Regions from separate parts of the Homo sapiens genome. Here region 1 is linked to region 2. The links are contacts of gene promoters, found by promoter capture Hi-C in human tissues and cell types (Jung and others, 2019). All regions are on one chromosome and are shown on one strand. Each heading gives the region's core, a stretch centred on a gene start or on the middle of the fragment in contact. The rest is flanking DNA. Distances are from core to core; before and after follow the strand shown. Region 1 overlaps AGPAT3 (1-acylglycerol-3-phosphate O-acyltransferase 3). Region 2 holds the start of PDXK (pyridoxal kinase).

The links. Contacts are between HindIII fragments. The study calls those that stand out against the background at their distance.
Region 1: a contact is called between a fragment that was not itself captured here and the fragment with the promoter of PDXK in region 2, in 1 of the 25 tissues and cell types used here (lymphoblastoid cells).

What each region holds. Positions count from the first base shown.
Region 1 is chr21:43,939,635-43,942,334 of GRCh38, forward strand. All of the region lies in intron 2 of AGPAT3 (1-acylglycerol-3-phosphate O-acyltransferase 3), which reads left to right. Among named protein-coding and RNA genes, the nearest start is that of TRAPPC10, 71 kb to the right of the region's middle. RefSeq lists an enhancer at 1-588 and a silencer at 1,128-1,299. The HindIII fragment of the contact is 3,906 bases long and covers 1-2,700 here.
Region 2 is chr21:43,717,784-43,720,651 of GRCh38, forward strand. PDXK (pyridoxal kinase) reads left to right here and starts at 1,346. Exons shown (of 11, transcript NM_003681.5): 1 at 1,346-1,598. The coding sequence starts at 1,512. LOC124905032 (a long non-coding RNA gene) reads right to left here and starts at 765. Exons shown (of 2, transcript XR_007067896.1): 1 at 432-765. RefSeq lists enhancers at 648-697, 2,039-2,868 and silencers at 848-1,637, 1,678-1,987, 2,145-2,334. The HindIII fragment of the contact is 22,908 bases long and covers 1-2,868 here.

The DNA.
Region 1 (2,700 bases), core at 164-2,663, 220 kb after region 2:
CCCACAGCCATGCCCCACATGCAGGACGTTTGCCTATCACTTGGAGGCCTTTCAGGGATCTTGCTAGCCCACGGCTGAGCACAGGGTAGACCTCACCAACTCACCCACAACCTGGCCCCTTGACACACTGGTGCTGTGAGGAGGAAGATGTGGGCACTCTTAGGTCCCTGGTCCTAGGGGTCTGTGCTGGGGTGGGGCTCGTTGACCTGCATCCTGGCTGGCCCTGTGACTCTGCCTGTTTACAGTGAGCAGCTCCTGGCCAAAAGCTGCTTATTGGATTAGCCGGTGCCCCGACGGCAGAGCCCGCAGCTGTGCGCAGGAGGACGAACCTGTGTGTATGTCCTGCTTCAGCGCGCTCCTGGGGTCCCTTGAGTTGGTCTCTGTGACTAGAAGGACAGTGCTGGCCACGCAGGTGGCACCCTGGGGGTGCCCAGCACCCACTTCCTGCTGAGCAGATGCTCTGGGTGGCAACGGCCCCTGCCAAGCCTGGGCAGCTCAGGCCAGGTCCTAATCCCTCCGCTTGAGCTCGGCTCCTCACCCTTTGGCCAGGCTGACACCTGCTCCCCGCAGGTCCTTCTCGCCGGCTTCAGGCAGCACAGGACCGAGGGCTGAAGATGCTGAGCAGCTACCCGGCCTGCCTCTTCTCAGGGATCTGTGTGGCCCTGCTGGCGGTGGCTTTGGCCTATTACTTCTACTGGTGAGTGAGGCCGGGGCCCGGGGGCCTGGGCAGTCCTGGGGGCCTTTACTGTGTGCTCCCCTCCTCTTCCAGCCCTGGACCGTTCTCTGCATGTCAACAAACCCTGCCTAGCCCTTTGCAGGGGAACTCCTGGGAGGTAGGGAAGCAGGGGATGGCAGGAACTCATTCTGATCCCTCCTGGGGTCCTTGGGCAGCTCTCCCATCCTTCTGCAAAGGGGTTTTTGTTCAGAACATTCCTGAAGGAGCTGAGCGGTTTCATACCATCTGGGCGGTGTTTGTAGATGCCTGGCATGTCCTGGGACGGACAAGTGCCTGATGTATGGGCACAGACTCCCACTGCCCCCCAAGGCAGGTGCTGTAGGATGGCTGATTTACATGGTGATCTGCACCCTGAGCAGAAAATGCGTAGTTACCATCAAAGTGGCGCTGCTCTGTCACACCCATTGCCTGATGGGCTGGTTTATGGTGATCGCAGGCGATTTCCCAGCTGCCCTTGACCAGAGTCCGTGCCGGCTCTTACTGCAGAAGCCGAGAATCAGCAGGTGTCACAGATCACGCTGGCCTAGGATTTCAGAGACTCGGTCCCAACCCCGCTGTGTCTCCGGGCTGGGATTAGATGGGGTGTTTGTGCTCCAGGCCTCCAGTGCTCGTTGGTAAAACGGGACACTGATGCCGCCTGCTGTTTCTGCAGAGGGTCAAAGGGCACAAGATGCGTGCCAGCCTCTGTCCATGGGGTGTGTGATGATGGTACCAGGTGGTGCAGGGGGCAGCTGGGGGGACCCAAAAACCCCAAGTCTGGGTGCCAACTTTATTTTCTAGAGCCGGAGAACGAGGTGATTTCCTAGGAAGAGACCACAGCTCCCCTGGAGGTTCCACGCTAGACTGTGTTTGTTTTTCTTGGTGCACACTTGGCCAGGAGCTGCTTCTCTCTGATCTGGAAGCTTTCTCTTCTATAGATCCGATTAATGCACTTCCATTGCTAACAGCGGGGAGGGTCACTGCAGGTGACACAGGCAGGAGGATGCCCAGTCTTCCCCATGACTCAGTTTATGTAAAAACGATCAATACTATTTACAAAGAGGTTTACCCAGAGCCAAAAGACAGAATCCTAAGGCTGAGGCAGGAGGATCCCTTGAGCTCAGGAGGTCAAGGCCACAGTGAGCTGTGATTACGCCACTGCACTCCAGCCTGGGCAACAGAGCGAGACCCCATCTCTAAAAAACAAACAGAACCTAAGTGTGGAATTTAGGAGACAAATTAGCTTGGGATTTGGGGCCTCTGAGAGTTTGAGCAAGGGGGTCGGTCATTGGTGAGGGTTCCAAAACCCCAGGAGCAACCGCTCACTCATCCTCAACCTGGGGCTACCGCGAGTGTGACGGGGGCCATGTATACAGGGCAGGCTGGCCCCAGCGAGCGGGCGACTCTGGCAGCTTCCACGGACCGTTCCTGGCGCCTGGGCGGAGAAAGGGTATCAAATCATTTCCTGGGATTCGTGGCTGAGCTATGCAGTTTCACAAATGCTCAAAATGATGAAAGACCTATTAGGTGTTGGGAAAAGAGCGCCTCTGTCTGGGAAGAGTGCCGCATTGCGCCTGAGCAGCTGCTCGTAATTGGCTTATGCCAAGCCTCTCAGCTTCAGCCTGCTGACCAGGTGGCAGGGGACTGGCTGTGCCACCTCCTCACCCACAGCGTTTCCAAGGATGTGCATTTCTCCTTTGCCCTCAGGTCTTCAGTAAGTTAGCTGTGGAATTCGAGGCCTCAAGTGGTGGCCTGCGCCGTGGCAGCGTACCCACAGGTGCCATTTAGTGGCACTTGCAGTACGACCTGGGAGCTTCCGGAACCTGTGGGCTTGTGAGGTCCCTGTTGATCCTGTTTGACCTGGAGGGCCACAGAGGCGGCTTGGTTTTTTTGTGGGGACAGAGACGTTGAGCGTCACGGTGGGTGCTAGGCCTGTAATAGGAGCGATTCTGCATTGATGGCACCACGGGTCCAGGGAGGCCTCG
Region 2 (2,868 bases), core at 96-2,595:
GCGCGATCTTGGCTCACTGCAACCTCCACCTCCTGGGTTCATGCAATTCTCCTGCCTCAGCCTCCCAAGTAGCTGGGATTACAGGTGCACACCACCACACCCAGCTAAATTTTTGTATTTTTAGTAGAGATGGGGTTTCATTATGTTGGCCAGACTGGTCTTGAACTCCTGACCTCTTGATCCGCTCAACTCAGCCTCCCAAAGTGCTGGGATTATAGGCGTGAGCCACCGCGCCCGGCCAATGTTAGCTATTATTAATGGACAATTATGACTAATTATGAAGTACTTTCTTTTAAAAGCCTAGATCTCTAAGTAATGTCTTCCTCCCTCAGTCCTCAGCACCCGCCTGGTCGGGCATTGGGTCTCACCAAGCTACAGAGCCCTAGGTGCGCTGTGTTAGGTCACCAAGACTTTAGTCTGGTGATACTGACCCCAGGGCCCCAAATCACCATGTCTGCAAGTCTGGAACCCAAAGGCCTCCGTTCCCCGGGGTGGTGCAGGGAAGCCGCAGGGAGTGCGTCAGCTGTGGAGAGCGTAGGGGTGGGAAGTGAAGGCTGTGGGGTCCCCCAGGGGGTCAGGTTCGTCCTCGAAGGCAGGCCCTCCACAGGAAGACCTGGTTGGGGTGGGATCGGACACGCGGCCCAGACCCAGGCACCTGTGGATGGACGGCCGGGCATGTGGCCATCGGCTGGGGGCCTCTGCAGGCCGCGCCACCAGAGTGGGCACTCAGGGTCCGCAAGGGTCTGGGGCGCCCCCAGAGAAGCCCGCCGCCCCAGGCCGGTGCGGAGTTGACTGGGTCCCCCCGGCCCCGTGTCTGTCAGCTCCCGCGCGGCCCCTGGGAAGGGACGCGGATCGGATGCGGGCTCCGGGCCCTGCAGGCAGTTGAGAGCGCGGTTCCCTTGGGTATCCGGGGTCCGGGGTCACTTTCGCGCCTCCGCACTATTCCCACGCCCGCGCGCACTCTCGTGGCCATCCGCGTTGCGAGAGTGTCGCGCCCGGAGGTCAGGGGCGTGGAGCCCGGGCCCCCGAGTCTCCCCTGCGTGCGGCGGGGCGCGGGGCGCGGGGCGCGGGGCGCAGGGCTGAGGCGGAGCACAATGGTTGAATGAATGAATGAACGAACGAATGAACGGCGCTGCAGAGCCCTCTCCAGGCGGAATGAAAGTGCAAACCCAGCGTTTCGGGCGGCAGAGTGGCGGGGGCCACCTGGCGCGGCCGCGCGGCCAGGGTCCGGTTTCGCTTCCTCCCAGCCCGGGGGCGGGGCCTGCGTGGCTGTCCCCGCCCCGGTCCGCCCCCGGCCAGCCCCCGGCGCCGCGCGGAACTCGCGGGTTCGGAGCCGCCCGCTGAGGTCAGAAGGAGGCGTCTGCGCTGATCGGGTCCGCCGCGCGCCAGAGCCAGAGTCGCAGCCGAGGGGAGCCGGGGCCGGAGCCCGAGCCCGAGCCGAGCCGGAGCCCGAGCGAGCGGCGGAGACCGTGCCCCCGCCTCGGCCCCGCGCCGCCGCGGCCAGGCCCGGCATGGAGGAGGAGTGCCGGGTGCTCTCCATACAGAGCCACGTCATCCGCGGCTACGTGGGCAACCGGGCGGCCACGTTCCCGCTGCAGGTACGCATCCGCCCGCAGCCCGGGCTTACGTAACCCGAGCCCGTGACCTTGGCGGGGCTGCCCGAGACGAGCCTCAGTTCCCCGAGGGAGGCTCGGGAGCTGCGGGCAGAGCCTGGCGCGGGCGCCCTGGAGGCAGGCGCGGGATGAGCCTCCCGCTCTGCTTGGCTTGCGGGGGCGGAAGCGGAGGGCTGAGCGCTCTGCGGGCCCCTGCGGGTGGGACGGGTCCGGCGTCGGGGTACGCGGGTAGGAGGGAGCCCTGTGCACCAGCTATGGCGCAGCCGCTCGTCCTCGCCCCTTCCCGCCGACCGGGCCAACTGCCGCGGGGGCGGGCGGGCGGTGCGGCTCCCGGAGGCGAGGAAATGTCGCAGAGCCCCGAGGAGTCCCGGAGCAGTCACGCGAGCCGGGACCTTGCCCCGCTGGAACGCAGAAGCGGCCGTGGAGCTCGAGACGCTCGCGCGCTCACCTCCTGGGCCCCTGTGCGTGGGGAAGTCAGGAAGAAGACGCCGAGTGAGGTCACGGTGCCCACGAGGGTGGATTCCCCTCGGCCTGACCACGCCAGGAGGTGGCCGAAGGGAAGAGGGTGGGGCAGGGGCTGCTCTGCACCCTCTAGCAGAGCGGCATCCCTGCAGGTGTTTGCTCTGACGAGGAGAAGCCCCAGAGAGCAGTTCGGGACTGTGCGGATTGGCTTTAGGGAGCCAGCTTTTAAAACGCGTTGGCCCACGGCCTCCTGGTTGCAGCTAAGTGGCCCGTGGAGGGGTAGGAGAGGCCTGGGTGCAGTGGCGTGGGTGTCACGCAGGGCCGAGGCAGAACCAGGACGACGGGCACTTCCTGGCCTTGTCGAGTCAGCAGGAGGGCTGGGGGTGCCCTGCCGGGTCGTGCTCTCCTGTGCTGCCCACCTGCGGCCTGGTCACTGGGGACGGGAGCAGGTATGCCTGGTCCCTGTGCTGGGCCCCACGGGATGTAAAGAAGGGCCACCTGGGCACGGCGGGGCCTGCGGTGCGGGCTGGCCTGGGAGGAGGACAGGAAGAGGGGAGCAGAGCTTCAGTGGAATTTGAGGGCTGACCTAGGCGTGCCCCCAGGAGGACCAAGCTGAGCAGAGTTGAGCGTGGAAAGGCAGGGGGTTCGAGTCCGAAGTAAGTGGAGGTCCTGTTGGGAAGGATGCGGTGCTTCACAGGTGGTCTTACTTGAGACCCTGTTCCATCCAGCTGCAGGCAGACCCTGCCTGGGACAGTCAGGGTGCACCGGTTCTGTGGCTCCGGCTCTTAAGCAC